2 separate regions of the Homo sapiens genome follow, and region 2 is linked to region 1. The links are contacts of gene promoters, found by promoter capture Hi-C in human tissues and cell types (Jung and others, 2019). All regions are on one chromosome and are shown on one strand. The core of a region is centred on a gene start or on the middle of the fragment in contact, and the rest is flanking DNA. Distances in the headings are between cores, read along the strand shown. Region 1 holds the start of NCOR2 (nuclear receptor corepressor 2). Region 2 overlaps NCOR2 (nuclear receptor corepressor 2).

Region 1 (7,614 bases), core at 3,557-6,056:
CCTGTAGGTGAGGACCCGGGTTTACACAAGGAATTCTATAGTGAAGTCTTTGCTCTCCAACAGGATAAGCCAAAATGGAAACTGCAGCTCCTGTGTGTCCTGCGACACACAGGAGCTCATTATATCTCACAACCATAAAGTCAGAAGCAGCAGCAGCACCCCCATTTTAGAGATGAGCAAACTGAGGCTCACAATAGGTAAGTAACTCATTCACAGCTTGAAGCTGCAGAGCTGAACAGCAAACCCAATATTCATGCCCTTTGCCCCTAAAGGCTCTCCAATATGGCACAGGTGGCCGGCAATGTGCCCATTTTGCAGATGAGGGCACCCAAACCCTGAGAGCAAGGGGCACTCACCTGGGCCCACTGCTTGTAAATGGCCAAGCTGGAACTTCCAATGCTAAATCAGCGGCTCTCTTGGGGATGGCAGATGAAACACTCCGAGATTGTCCTCTAATATCTGGTTAGGACAATTCTTTCTAGATTTATAAACCAAAAGCTCCTTCCTCAAGGCTAGCTGGAGCCAAGTGGGCAGGGCAGTGTGGAAGTGTCCAGGCTCAGAAGCCTCACTCTGCTCCAAAATAGACATGATAATAACAATGATGCTAAGTTCATTCATCATAAGCACAGGTCCCTCCGCTGTGCAACCTCAGGCGAGCCTGGACCTGTGCCCTCATCTGTAAAATGGGAATGAAGCCGCCATCTGCCCCAGGGCCTCACTGAGCAGAAGCCCTCCGGCTACACAGTACCCGAGGGCAACGCGCCCAGCCTATGGGCACTCCAGGCCACAGAACTCTGCCGCTGCAGCTTTCTGGAGCACCATGCTAAATAATTCAAAACCATGTTTTCATTTCAAAACAAACACAGCAGTGTCGCCAAGGCGAATGCCAAATTTGCATGAATGTTTCAGATAAAATGAGACCTCAAAGAAATGCCAGGCCCTATCCTTCTCCCCAAACCCTGGGGAGAACGAGTTCTCAGTCTCCTGCCCCACCTGGGGCAAAGATCCGTAGGTGCTGCTCAAAGAAGAAACATCATTTCTTTCTTCATATCCTCTACGGCAGCTTTGCAAAGCAGGTCTGCAGTAAATTCCTGCTGCACTAACACGACCGTGAATAATCCCAGGTCTTAATTCGTAGTTCCACATCCAAGCTGTGTGACCTTGGGCAAGTTACTTAACCTCTCTGTGCCTCAAGTTCACCATCTATAAAATAAGATAATAAAAGCACCAACTCATAGAGGAGTTATGAAGAGTAAACAAGCAGATTTGCGTAGAGCACGGTTCCTGGCACACAGTAGGTGTTGGTTCTTATTACTAGCGTATGATCCACAGCCTTTTCCAACATGGAGGCTGAGAGTTCGCCGGATGGGTTGTAAAGTCAGTTCCCTGGCTCCAAGCTCCCTCAAAAGATGCCCAGCTGGCCTTTCCCAAGCATCACTTCCCTGGGGACCACACGCACCCACCTAGGGACACAGACCTTCTGTCACCCTTGGCCTGGGCCTAAAAAACCTGGCTCTCCCCAGGCAGCAGCTCAAGCTTGGGGCCCTCCTTGCCCCTCCCCTGGGCACCTCAGGCAGGAGTTACCAGCTCCCACCGGCAGTTCCCCAGTCTCAAAAGTGTCACCTGGGGAGGCTGCTGTTTAGCGTTTGAGATGTGAAGAGGAAACAGGGAAGGGAAAACACACACACACAAATAAAAGCTCTCAACCCCCGCCACCCCACCCCCACCCCCACCCCCGGCCCACGGTCAGAGGCAGCATTTGTGGGGCTTTTCAGTTCAGACAGCGGCAGGAGGAGGGGCTGAGAGCCTGTCTCCTCTGCCTTAAAATCTCCCTTCCCACAGACAGGACCCCAGGAGAACCCTCCGGCTGGGTTCTGCGTAGGTACCACCCCCGCCTCCCATCTCCGAGTGAAGCACCAACTTCTCCACCCACACTCTCAGATGGGGGTTGGGAACACAGAACTATGAATGCGCCCCCTCTCAGCCAGGGGGAAACGGGGCCAGGCAGCCTCCACATCCAGCATGAATGGCAGACGCTGGGGGCCAGGACTCCTGGGGCTAGCTTCCAACTCCCTCGGTGGGTGTCTGCGCTGCCAGCGCCCCCTGCCCCCCACCCCCAGGCCCCGAGAACAATCAAGCCGTCCCCAGCCCAGGGCTTCCATGCAGTAAATTCGTGTTTGCAGAGCTCTGGGAAATCTTTAGGAGGTGGCATGAGTATTATTAATTGGGGAAAAAGAACAGATTATGCCAAATAAATCCTTCCCACATAACCAAACCCTCTCCGAGAGGGGGAGGGGGAGAGCGCAGCCCCAGGAGGGGTCTCCATCCCTCACCAGGGCCTGACAGCCACATTACCATTTACATGGATTTATCAATAGTATTGATCCCCAGCAGCGTAAATAGCTCAGTGGGAAGAGGCCAGGGCTGGGGCCTGCTGCGCTCCCGCCCCCATGTCTGGGCACCGGCACCACAGACTCCCCCGGCACCCGCTGGCGGTGGCAGCAGTGAATTTCCAAGCAGGGACACGGCAGGCGGCTCAGGGAAGCCAGACAGAGCCCGGGATGCCCTGGCAGCCGCGCTGCCGACTCGCCAGTCACCGCTGGCTCCACCCCCCCTTCATTGCTCTGCTGGGCCTGACTCAGTCTTTGCATCTGTTCAATGGGCGGGGGCACCTGCCCTTCTCCATCCTCTCCGGACAAGCAGAGGGGAGTGGGAAAAGGCCCCCTCCCTCCCCCAGATCCCCCCACTGTCCACCCCCAGCCAAAGGTAAGGTGGCCCCTTTTCACAGGGCTTCCAGACCACGTTGGATTAAAGGCCCAATCTTAGAACCCAGGAATAATAATACCGACACAGTAGTCATAGTAACACATACAAGTACCAAGGGATTCTTATGGCCGGACGGTCAGCTCTCACAACCACTCTGTGAACTCAGTACCATTTTGACCCTCATTTTGCAGATGGGAAACCTGACAGGCACAGAGAAGTTAAGCATCTGTCCAGGGTCACACTGCCAGGAAAGTGGCAAAGGTCAGAGTCAAACCCCAGGAGCTGAGGTGCAGAGTGGGCCATCCCACCTCACTGCTGCTTGCCATTTCTCGGCCCCTCCTCAGCACCCCCAAAGAGGCCACCCACGAGGTACACAGCCTGCCCCGGGTCGCCCTCCCGGCGCAGTCTGGCCCGGAGAGCCCCTTATATCAAAGCTGCCGCAAGGACCCAGATCTGGCTGAAAAGGGGCAAAGTCAAGGCCACCGGTAACACATCCCAACGCGCCCAGAACTCCCCCACCCCGCCCACAGGGTCCTCCCCTTATCCCCTCCTCCCCTCTTCCCTCCCTCACACATCCTTCCTCCAAATCTGCAAAAAGGGAAAAATAATAATAATCACAATAAAACCAGTTCTCACCAACGGGGGAGAGGAGGAGGGGGAGGAAGGGAGGAGGCTGAGCCGACAGAACAGATCCGCCCCCGCTGCCTGCACCAGACCCTCGGAGAGCCGGAGCGCGCGACAGGCGGCGGGAGGACACTCGCTTCCAAAAAAATAAACCTACAATGTAAAAATAACGCCGGGCGCCCCACGCTAATTGGGCCCGGGCGACAGCAGCTCCCAGGTACAGCCTGTCTCTCCCTCCCGCCCGCCGTGCCCTCCCGCCCTCGGCTTGCTCCTCCTGCAAGTGTCTGGGGCGGGGAGGGCGTACCCCACGGGTGCCCTCACTCCCCGCAGGCCTCTGAGGAAGCTGCCCTCTAGACAAGGGTCTGGGTCTTCCCAGTCGTGCCCAAGTGGGATCAGCTCTGAATTCCAACTTCGCAAAGTAGTGGCATCCCAAGTATCCGCACAGCCCGGGGGAGGGACTAGGAGGCGGCCCAATGAGGCGTCACCAGCCACGGGAGGCAGGCCCAGACACCAGGAACACCGGCCCGCGGGGGAGGGGGACCAGGGGCGACTCTCCCGAGGGACCCCGCCCAGCGCCCCGTGGCCCCACGCCTAGGAGGGACAAGGCTGGCTCTCCCCCTCGGCTGGTGAGAGACCCTCATGCGCCCCTCCACAACAGCCAGGCCAGGGAGCTAGGGGTACCATCTCCAAGGGCTTTCAAACCCGCGCTGCCCGATGGAAAATAAGGCGCAGTGTCGCCCCGCCAGGTCCGGGGCTACACCGGGTACAAGGGACGCCTGGCGGCCAAGTCCCCAGAGCCGGCGCACACTGTGGGGGGCCGCTCTGTGCATTTCCAGCGCGCCCCCCGCCCACCCCAACGCCACTTCCCTCCTTCCCGCCCCCTCGCTAGGGAGCTGGAGTTCCCCTAAGTTCCCCGGCGCCCCCGAGCACGCGGGCCGCAGTGTCGGCGGGGCGCCTTGCTCCCCAGCAGGCCACCCCCCGAGAGCGCCAACTCGGGAGTGCAGGGGCCCCGCCAACTCCGCCGCGTGCGCCGCCCGATCCTCCCCGGATCCCCCGGAAGCGCGCTCCGCGCCTCCCCCCGCCCTTCGCGGGGACCCTCGGCCCCAACTCACCTCGCGGAGGTGGCAGCGGTGGCGCCCGGGCTTGGGGCGCGCTCGGGCCGCCGGGGCGCTCAGGCAAGTGGCGGTGCCGATCGGGCTGGGGGCGCGCAGCAGGCCCGGCCTCGGGTCGGGACGCGATCCTCCCGCCGCCGCCTCCTAGGGCGCCGGCCCTGGGTCCCCGGCCCGCAAGTTGGCGCGCATCGCGGAGCGCAGGGCGCGGGCGCAGGGCTCGGGCGGGGCGCCGGCGGACGCGGGGCTCCGGTGCGGCCCGGCCTGCCCGCGGCTCCGCGCTCCCCGGCGGCCGCGGCGGCGGTGGCGGCGGCGGCGGCGGCGGCGGCGGCGGGAGGGGGAGGAGGGGGCGGGGCGCGAGCCCGGGAGGCGGTGGCTCGGCCTCCCTGCTCCCGGCTCCCCGCCCGCAGCGACGCGCCCCGGCCCGGCCCCCTCTGGCTCCTTAAAGGGCCCGCGCCTTCTCTCCAGGCCCTGCGCGTCCCCACTCGCGCGCGCACGCCGCCACACACACAGACACGCACGCACACACTTGGGCGCGACGCCGAGTTTCTTTTTGGCAGCTCCCCGAGGAGGAAGGAGGGGGGAAGCGCCTCCCAGCCTTCCCCTCCCTCTTCTCCTGCGGGCCCGGGGGCCCTCCTCCTCCTCTCCAGCCCCAGTACCTCACTGGAATCGCGTTTCAGCTATTAAATTATAACTCTGGAGTGGCCGCTGGATGGGGAGGGGGCGCGCAGGGAGGGCCCTACACAGGGCCTTTTAGGAGCACGCCCAGTGGGGCACTTGGGGACGGGAGCAGACAGTAGCGCAGAGCCCTCTCCAGGCAGGAACACGCTGGGCCTCCCCAGACCCGAGACCCAGCCCGGGCGAACACACTGCAGACTCACCACCCACCACGGACCGGAGATGTCAGATCTCACACAGACAAATACTGGGACACCCACGCGAGTTCACAGCACCCCGGAGGACACAGACGCTAGAATGCCAGTTTCCTGAGGGCAGAGATTTCTATTTTGTTCACTGCCCTATCGCAGTAGGGACTCACGAATGTGTTGAGTGAAGTCCCACTTGGGGACATTCAGGGACACAAATGCGGAGACAATGCAACGAGCCTGTGTCCCCCCCGCCCCCCCCACACACACACACAGACACACACATCCCAAAGCGTGACCCTGGGAGCCACACACGCCCGGCCTGCACAAGCACGCAGTCACAGACGGCACACATGTGCTCGCTCCCCCACGCACAGGCAGACACTCTCCGCTCCAGCAGGAACCTGGCCCCCCTGGCCGCCCTGACAACCCAGTGTCCTCATTTACCCCCTCCTCCCACCCCCTCCAGGTTTGCCCTCTCCAACCAGGGCAGATCTCTTTGAACAGCAGAGGGCACTGGGAGCCCTGGGCCTGGAGCCTCCCTCCCTCCCTCCTCTTCTGCTTTCTCCTAAGATGTTGGAGAGTTTGAATTTTTTTTTTTTTTTTCAGTTCAACTTTCCTTTTTTGGAGTGACGTCTCAGCAGATTCAGTTCTGCCATCTGGCAACATCTGAGAACCCCCAGGGAGAGCGGGGAATGGCTGCGGTGGGGAGGCAGCCGCGTGGTTTCCAGAGGCCGGCGGGCCTCCCGCCTCCGCCAGGATGCTGGGTTTGCCGGGCTCCCCTGCAGCCAGGTCCTTCTCTGCCCCCTCGGGCTTTTAATTATGAGCTTTTGGGGGGCTGGCGGGAGCCTCTGGGGCTGACAATGTCTGGCAAAAGGGAAGTGGGTGTGGAGGGGAGCAGTTTGCAGACTGAAACAGGAGGGGTCATAGGTCAGTGCCCCCCCCCCACCTCCTTGTTTTGGCCCGACCAGCTCCAGTTCTGCCCAGCCAGTCGGTCCGAATCCACAGGCAAAAAGCTGGAGCCGCAGAAGGAAGGCCTGATCCCCCACCTCCCCCACCAAGGGTCTTGGAGAGGGAAGCGGGGGCGGGGGAGCTCCTCTGCCAGCCCCAGGCCGCCTGGCAGCCCTCCTCTGTCACCTGAAAACCCTCTGGGAATTTGCATTTCCATGAGATTCAGCTCTATTTGAAGCTGGAGGAGGGACATTTGGGGTGTCTTCAGGGGTCTCCCAGCTTCTGCCCTCGAGGGCTCCCTGCAGGCTTAGGAGCGGGGAAAGCAGGGGGTCTGTCAGCTTTGTAATGTCCCAAGCGTCACCTAGAAATCCCTCACTGGAAGCCTTATCAACTCAAGCGCCAATGGCCTCTGGCCCGACCATGTCACAGATGGCAAGACTGAGGCCAGGAGAAGGGCAGCGTTTATCCCGAAAGGGATTGGCCCTTTCCCGTCTGCTCCTGTTTCCTGGCTGAATTGGGTTATTAATCTCACCCTCACAGACGGCGGGGAGTAACACCAGCACTGAGTGAGCACTTACCCTGGGGGAAGCAAGGGGCCTGGTCCCAAGTAGGGAAACAGGCCTGGAGAGATGAAGAACCCGACTTGCCAGCCTCCAGCAGCAGCCCGTGATTCCAAATGAGTGCTGGAAATCTGGACTCTGGGGAGGTCTCAGCTGAGCCCGCCCCTTCCCCCAATCGCAGACCGGCACCCTAGTTTGCTACTTTGTTTCTACTGGGCTCTGAGTGACAGTCCATGAGCAACTAATGGGAACAGTACCTTTAAAAAGCGGCCAAAGAACACTGCACACAAACAGCCTTCCCGGGGGGGCCCCCTGGACTGTGAGTTAGTAACAGTAACAGCTAAGAGCTTCCCAAACATCTCAATTGCCTTTGTGAGGGAAAGACTTTCAACATACCCATTTTACAGGAAGGGAGAGGGAGACTCAGTTGGGAAGTCACCAGGGACACTGGGAAGCATGTTGTATGTGTCCCAGGCCAGGCTGCAGCTGGCTGGAGCATGCTGTATATATATCCAGGGGGCTCCCGTCCAGTTGGCGCCAATTTCTGCCCCTTGGGCTTTGTCTCTACCATCTCCGGCCCAATCCTTCAACCATTCCTTCCTAAAGACTCCCTCCAATCCTTCAACCATTCCTTTCTAAGTACTTGGCAAAATAGTCCAGCTCATCCCCGCCTCAACACCTTTGCACTTGCTGTTCCGTCTGCCTGAGACTGTCATCTTCTATCTTCAGGTCCCAGCT
Region 2 (7,614 bases), core at 2,324-4,823, 130 kb before region 1:
ACCACACCACCATACCCCACACACCCTCCTGGACTCTCTCGGAACTGCCCCTTGGGGGTTCAGAGCATGGGCTCAGGAACCAGGTGGTCTGGGTTCAAATCTCAGCTCCACCACTTCCCAGCTGTGTGACCTAGGGCAAGTTACTTAACCTCTCTGTGCCTCGATTTCCTCCTCTGAAACATGTGGCTGACCAAGCGCCCACCTCGCAGGACTAAATGCCCTAATGTATGGAGAGCACTCAGAAGAGCGCCTGCAACACAACAGGCACCGGAAGGGCAGGGTGTGCGGGCATCCTCCTCGTCCTTACGCACGACCTGTCCCTGCAGCCTGCAGGTCTGAGGACAGGGCCCGTGTCACAGCAACTGCGAGCCTCACACACAGTAGGTGCTCCGTGACTACTGGCATCCAGGCCCCAAAGGCACTGGATCAGCTAACACCCTGTCCCGGCCCATTTCAGTTCAAGCAGGACTTGGTCATCACCTACTGTGTACCACAGACCTACAGGCGCTGGGCATGACTGAGCCAGGCCTGCGCCTGGGAGGGCCTCTCTGGAGGCCCAGAAAGGATACAGGGAGCTGCCTCGCAGGCCCTGCCTCAACACAGCTGAGGGAGAGAGGAGGTGGGGCAGGGGGCTGCAGGTATGAGGGGAGCCCCTCCAGCCTCCAGCAAACCTAGTTCCCAGCCCTTGCCGCGTCTCTTATCCAAGAATCCCAAGGCAGCAGTCCCCATCCAGCCCGCCTCTTCCCCAGGTGGGGACCTTTTCAGGGCCTCCCCAGCCTTATCCCATTCCCTACCATGTCCCAGCAGCCCCGTGGCTTGGGTGGAGTCAATGACATCATCCCCAACTGTAGAGAAAGTCCCATGAGCCAAAACCAGGCAGCCTCACTCCATCTCCCCGGCATCAGCCACTGGTTCACAGGACGCAGGCCCTCTCCTGGCCTAATCAGAGCATCTGTGATACCATCCGAGAAAGCACAGCTCTCTCCGGCTCCCACCTGCTATGGGAATTCAGGTTCAGTTTGTCAATGTTCTAACATAAGGAGTTGAAAAAACTGCACAGGAATGAAGGGGCTGGGTGCAGTGCTCACACCTGTGATCCCAGCGCTTTGGGAGGCCGAGGCGGGTGCATCACCTGAGGTCGGGAGTTCAAGACCAGCCTGGTCAATGGAGTGAAACCTTCTCTACTAAAAATACAAAAATTAGCCGGGCTTGGTGGCGGGCGCCTGTAATCCCAGCTACTTGGGAGGCTGAGGCAGGAGAATTGCTTGAACCCGAGAGGCGGAGGCTGCAGTGAGTAGAGACCCTGCCACTGCACTCCAACCTGGGTGACAGAGCGAAACTCCATCTCAAAAATAAATAATAAATAAATAAACAAATAAAATGAAATGAAATGTAATGAAATGAAATGAAGGCAAGACTTGAGTTGAAAGACTATTCCTGCCATCTACACCCAACAGACATTTCCAGCTACAGCCATTCCTTTCCTGTTGAAGCCCATCTGAGTCCGCGCTTCTTCCCCTGACAGCTGGGAGAATACTCAACCCTGATCTCCTCCGGGGAATGGGTGATGGCCACGGCCGCCTGAAACCACCACCACATGCCTCTGGCAGACCCAGCCTCCCCGCCGTGGGCTGAGATCCACAGCCTACAGTGAGAAGCAGGAATCAGCATCCTTTTCTGTTTGGATGAGGCCACTGGCCACAAATGCAGGCTCAGGGAAAGGGGGCTCAATGCTTGTCCACTGTCTCAGTTTCCCTGAGCCTGGACCTGGGCCCAGTGCACCAGGAAAGGCTCATTTGTAAGGGTGCGCCTGCGGCCCCTGCTGCCCGGCACACAGCCCACCCTGATCCTCCACCTCTCTCCAAAACCTCTCTTTCTGCCTGAAAAGCCCAGGACAGGTCCCGTGACCAGGGCTTAGCAACTAATTTTCCAGGCCAACATTTTGCTTTCTTCCCTTCCAGGCTGGAAGAGGGGCCATAGAGCCCCCCCACCCCCACCCACCCTGGGGCCTTCTGGAAGCAGCTGTTGTCTTTCCTCCTTTCCTGGCCGGCCTTGGCTTTTCCTCCGCAGCCTGGACACTCAGGGAGGACACAGCTGCGGAACTGACAGGGCCCCGGCAGGTGTGGCCCCCTGTGCGCTCGATTCTCCCCAGATCTCAAGGAAAGCTGATGGGGGCCACGGTGTGGACTTACCCATTGTTTCCGAGCGTGATTCCTCCTCTTGAAGTACAAGATTAGCTTCTTCCGCATCGCCTGGTTTCTGTGCAGGAGGGAAGCGGCAGACAGGTCAGCCCGGCCGGGCTCAGGCGCTGCACCCCGTGCCATCCTGTTTGCTGAGAGTGAGCCCCAAATTTGCCCCGTTATTGGTTCTCAGGGAGATGAGACCCACCCGTGCTGTATCCCCAGAGAGACCTGTGAGCTGCCAACGTGCATCCTTACTCCCCCGCGCGCGAGGCAGCCCCCGCCAACGTTTAGGTTGAGCCCAGTGTGCAGGCAAGAGGGTTCCCAGAGCCGAGGGGCCTGTGGCTTCCCGCCCCCGCCCACATGCACCCCGGCAGCCACATCTGCCCACGGAAAGATGGCCACGGAGAAACAGCCACAGCCTCCAACTAGGAATACAGGCCACAGAGCCCGAGACCCCGAGACCTGCTGCCGCCCACAGGCCGGGTGTCAGAGTGTGGCCTGTGTGGCCCCAGGATTGGCTCCAACCAGGTGCTGTGCATGGACCTCCAGCACACCCAGTCCTGCTGCGGGGGGAGGGACACAAGCAGTGTGGGGCAGCTGGTGGGGCCACCAGGCATGGACTTCAGGAAACCCCCGGGCGGGGGCGGTCTCAGACTTCAGGGCAGGGCCCATGGGGTCTCAACCAAGCAGGTTACACACACCACTGCAGGCTCCAAGAGAAGGAGGCACGTCCTGGGAGACGGGAGTTTCAGAGAGAGAGAGGGAGACAGAGACCCAGAAAGAGAGGGAGACAGAGACCCAGAGAGACAGGGAAACAGAGAACCAGAGAGAGAGAGAGAGACAGAGACCCAGAGAGACAGAGAGAGAGAGAGAGAGAGAGAGAGAGAGACGGAGACCCAGAGAGAGGGAGACAGAGACCCAGAGACAGAGGGAGACAGAGACCCAGAGACAGAGGAAGACAGAGACCCAGAGAGAGGGAGACAGAGACCCAGAGAGAGAGAGACGGAGACCCAGAGACAGAGGGAGAGAGAGACCCAGAGACAGAGGGAGACAGAGACCCAGAGAGAGAGAGATGGAGACCCTGAGACAGAGGGAGACAGAGACCCAGAGAGAGAGAGATGGAGACCCTGAGACAGAGGGAGACAGAGACCCAGAGAGAGAAACAGAGACCCAGAGACAGAGGGAGAGACAGAGACCCAGAGACAGAGACCCAGAGACAGAGGGAGACAGAAACCCAGAGAGAGGGAAACAGAGACCCAGAGAGAGAGAGACGGAGACCCAGAGACAGAGGGAGACAGAGACCCAGAGACAGAGGGAGACAGAGACCCAGAGAGAGAGAGATGGAGACCCTGAGACAGAGGGAGAGAGAGACCCAGAGAGAGAGAGACAGAGACCCAGAGACAGAGGGAGAGACAGAGACCCAGAGAGAGAGGGAGACAGAGACCCGGAGACAGAGGGAGACAGAGACCCAGAGACAGAGGGAGACAGAGACCCAGAGAGAGAGAGAGAGAGACAGAGACCCAGAGAGGGAAACAGGGACCCAGAGAGAGGGAGACAGAGACCCAGAGAAAGAGGGAAACAGAGACCCAGAGAGAGAGAGACGGAGACAGAGACCCAGAGAGGGAAACAGGGACCCAGAGAGAGGGAGACAGACAGGGAGACAGAGGTGAGAAAGAGACAGAGACTGGGAGAAGGGGAGACACAGAGACGGAGATAGATAGACAGATGAGATCCAAGAAAGGACAGAGACCTGGAGATGGACAGGAGATGAGACTGAGAGGTGAGACTGGAGTGAGAGAGATGAGAAAGAGAGGATCAGAGAGAGAGAGAGAGGCAGTCACAGAGAGACAAGATCCAAAGGAAGGGGACAGAGACTCAGAGGAAGATGAAACTAGGAGAGGGAAAGAGAGAGAAGTGGGGAGAGGGAAAGAGACAAGACCCGAAGAAAGGGGACAGGGACCCTGAGACAGGCAAAGGGAGGGAGCCCTGGAGAGTAGAGGCGGGAGGTTCTGGAGCCCACGCCATGAGGGCTGGAAGACACCCCCACCCACTGCTGCACCGAGACCCCAGGACCGTCCTCTTCTCTTCCCAGGCCCCTCCCCACGGTCTCCAACACACAAAGCAGGGTGCTGCAGCTGGCCTCCCAGGGCCTGGGGGGCCACAGCGACCTCAGGAGCCTGCTGTGCACCTTAACTTGCTGTCTGTCCCCAATCCGCGGCATTCAGTGGCACCCGCTTTTCTGGGGAGGGGATCCCCAACTTTTTCATATTCTCAGCAGTGTCCAAACCCCCTCAAAAGTTCCAAAGCTACTGACTGGGAGCCACGCTATGTCCAGCCCCCGGGACCCCAGCCCCATTGGAAACAGGAAAAGGAGGGAACCCCAGGCTCTGACGGACGAGTGAAGCCTCATGGGGCTCAAGGGCCTGGAATCCACCTCAGTCCCCGGGTCATTCTGGTGGTGACTTGGCCAGGGCCTCCCCACCTTCCATCAGTCTGGCCGCCGCCCCCCGGCCAGGGTGGGCCATGGGGGTCCTCAGTCCCACAGGCTAGGACCAGCACCCTTCATCTCATAACAGGGTGTCTCTGAGCACACCTCAGAAGCCCTCAGTTTCCTCATCTGAAATCTATGGCATCGCAGCCTCATCTTCTGTTATTCAATAACTGTTTACTGAGCATCTACTATGTGCCAGGCACTGTTCCAGGTGCTGGGGACACAGCAGGGAGCAAGACACAGTTGAGGGCTCTCACAGAGGTGACACTGACAATAAGCAAGATGACCAAGATAATCCTGGATTTGGGAACTTAAATGGAATGGTGGGCTAGTGGGTGCTGGGGGACGGGGTGTGAGGGGCTATTTTAGATTCCGTGGTGCAGAAAGATCTCCCAGAGAGGATGGCCTTGAGCTGGGATCTACGTCATCAGAAGGACCCGGCTCTGGGAAGATCCAGAAGGAAGGGAACTCCAGCTGGAGGGCACCGCAGGAGACAGGAACAAACTCTGTGTATCGGAAGCACAGACAGAGGAAGGCCCTGTGGCTGGACAGTGCTGGGGAGGGGCAGAGAGGACGGAGGAGGGGCTGTGAGCAAGACTGGCAGGGCCAGTCCTGCAGGGTCCTGTGAGTTTCGACATGGCAAAGGGTTTGGTCTTTTATGCAAAAGACAGCTGTGAAGGCCTAGAAGCAGTGAAGGCCCAGGCGCCATGAGCACAGCAGCACCCATATCTCAGCAAAGACCATCCTCCAATCCCAGAAACCGCGCTGCCCGGGCCATGGCTGATTCCAGCGCTCGGCCAGGAAGTATGCAAGAAGAGCCCAGAGTGACTTTAAGTCAAGAATTGCCAAAAACAAAAGAAAACAAAAGTCAAAAGGACACAGAACCCAGCCTGAAGGTTTCCGGCTGCCAGAGCTGGAACAATGTGAGTGACAACAGAAATAACCCTGGGACTAGATTAGCGTCCCAGGAATAAAACAAATCCCCACGAGTCCATGTGATTACAAACAAATGATTCAATACATCAATACATGGAGGAGAAGGGACAGATCTTTCTTCTAGAGTTCCAATGAATAAATGTCCAAGAGAGGAGGGAAACAGAAAATCGTCATTAGAACGCAGTAATAACCCAACCACCGCTGGCAAGATCCGGGGATGAATGCTAAATTGGTTGGCAAAATTTTAAGGAGCAACAGGAAATTTGCACAGTCTCAAAGAATCTCCCCGCAAGTATGTATGAATCATGGCGGTGGCTCCACAAATCTATATTCCTCCCTCCAGGAGGCGGAGCTTAACTCCCCTGCCCTGGAAGATGGGTGGGACTTGGTGACTCCCTAGTAAAGAACAGAGCAAAGGAGGGATAACTCTAAGGCGACAGCGGAGACCTAGGGCAGAGCCCCCTATCATGTGGGCATCACGCAGCCCCCTTACCTCTCTCTGGTCTTCCCCAAAACCCACCATCCCAGTCTTACCAGGAGGAAACACCTGTCAAAGAAAGCCATGACCAGTGATCTTCAAAAGTGCTGGGGTGGTGAAAAACAAGGCAAGGCTGAGAAGCCGTCACGGGCTGGAGACTAAAGAGACACGAGCACAAATGTCACGTGAGAACCTGAATCAGATCCTGGACCAGAAAACAGACGTTGGCGGAGAGACGGGTGAAAATGCAAAGACAGCTGGTAGTTTAGCAGAGGGTCATGTGCCACTATTTCTTTCTTAGTATTTTGTTTTGTTTTGTTTTGATTTTTGTTTTTAGAGACAGGGTCTTACTCTGTCTCCCAGGCGGGAGTGCAGTGGCTCGATCATGGCTCACTGCATCCTTGAACTCCTGGGCTCAAGCAATCCTCCTGCCTCAGCCTCCTGAGTAGCTGGAACTACAGGTACATGCCACCATACTTGGCTAATTTATTTTTTGGTAGAGATGAGGTCTTGCTTTGTTGCCCAGCTCGTCTCCAACTCCTAGCCTCAAGTGATCCTCCCACCTTGGCCTCCCAAAGTGCTGGGATGACAGGCGTGGGCCACCATGGCAGGCCCTAGTTGTGGTAAGTGTTTCTCTGCTGTTATATAAGCTGTCCACATGAGGGGTGCCAGGTGACGTGTGTGGGGGAACTCTGTGGAGCGTATTTGCAACTCTTCTGTTGCACAACGTACAATCTAGTTACTTCAAAATAAATAGTTCCACCTTCTCACAAAAGAAGAGAGATAGAATCCACTTTGAAACACCGTGGTGAAGACCATACAAAATTGACTTTGGGGTTTGCAGGTGGTACACTGCCTAGTACAGGTGGGAATGTCACCCCCAACCCCAACTACAAAAAAACTGATATGTGTAAAGTCCTAAGCCCCAGCACCTCAAAACATGACCTCATTTGGAAACAGAGTCTTTAGAGCGAGAAGCAAGTTAGAATGAGGTTACTGGGGTGGGCCCTAATCCAATGACTTATGAAAAGGGGAAATTTGGACAAAAAGACAGACACACACGGAGGGGAGATGACGCGAACAGACACGGGAAGAACACCACACGAATACAAAAGACGGGAGTGACGCATCTCCCAGCCAAGGAACGCCAAGGAGGCCGGCAGCCGCCAGGAGCTGGAACCGGCAAGGAAGCAGCCTCCCCCAGAGCCTTCTAGAGAATGTGGTCCTGCAGCACCTTGATTTCCAACTGCTGGCCTCCAGTACTGTGAGAGAAGAAAGTTCCTGCCATTTTCAGCTGCCCGGTTCACGGCCGAGTGTTAAGGCAGCGCTGAGAAGCTAGTCCGGCGTGTGATCTTCCACAAACCGCGGTGCTGTCACTGCAGCTGGAAAACGACTCGGTGAGCATGAGGCCTCGGGGTGGTGGTGATGTGCATGCAGCCGTCTGTTTGCCACCGATGGGCAGCAACTGAGGGTGTGAATCCACCCTGGCTGATCCAGGTTTCCTCCCAAAGCAAGGACACTGCCTG

Evidence for each region. The method cuts DNA at HindIII sites, captures the fragments that hold promoters and counts their contacts. A contact is called where the count stands out against the background at its distance.
Region 2: a contact is called between a fragment that was not itself captured here and the fragment with the promoter of NCOR2 in region 1, in 2 of the 25 tissues and cell types used here (H1 embryonic stem cells and dorsolateral prefrontal cortex).

Annotation. Positions count from the first base shown.
Region 1 is chr12:124,562,806-124,570,419 of GRCh38, forward strand. It overlaps NCOR2 (nuclear receptor corepressor 2), which reads right to left and starts at 4,807. Exons shown (of 49, transcript NM_006312.6): 1 at 4,503-4,807. RefSeq lists silencers at 3,553-3,652, 3,853-4,072, 4,213-4,322, 4,343-4,702, 4,813-5,062 and enhancers at 5,183-5,232, 5,399-6,259, 6,260-7,120. The HindIII fragment of the contact is 12,918 bases long and covers 1-7,614 here.
Region 2 is chr12:124,435,738-124,443,351 of GRCh38, forward strand. It overlaps NCOR2 (nuclear receptor corepressor 2), which reads right to left. Exons shown (of 49, transcript NM_006312.6): 10 at 2,193-2,259. Among named protein-coding and RNA genes, the nearest start is that of MIR6880, 100 kb to the left of the region's middle. RefSeq lists enhancers at 2,750-2,849, 3,724-4,443, 4,444-5,164. The HindIII fragment of the contact is 9,749 bases long and covers 1-7,614 here.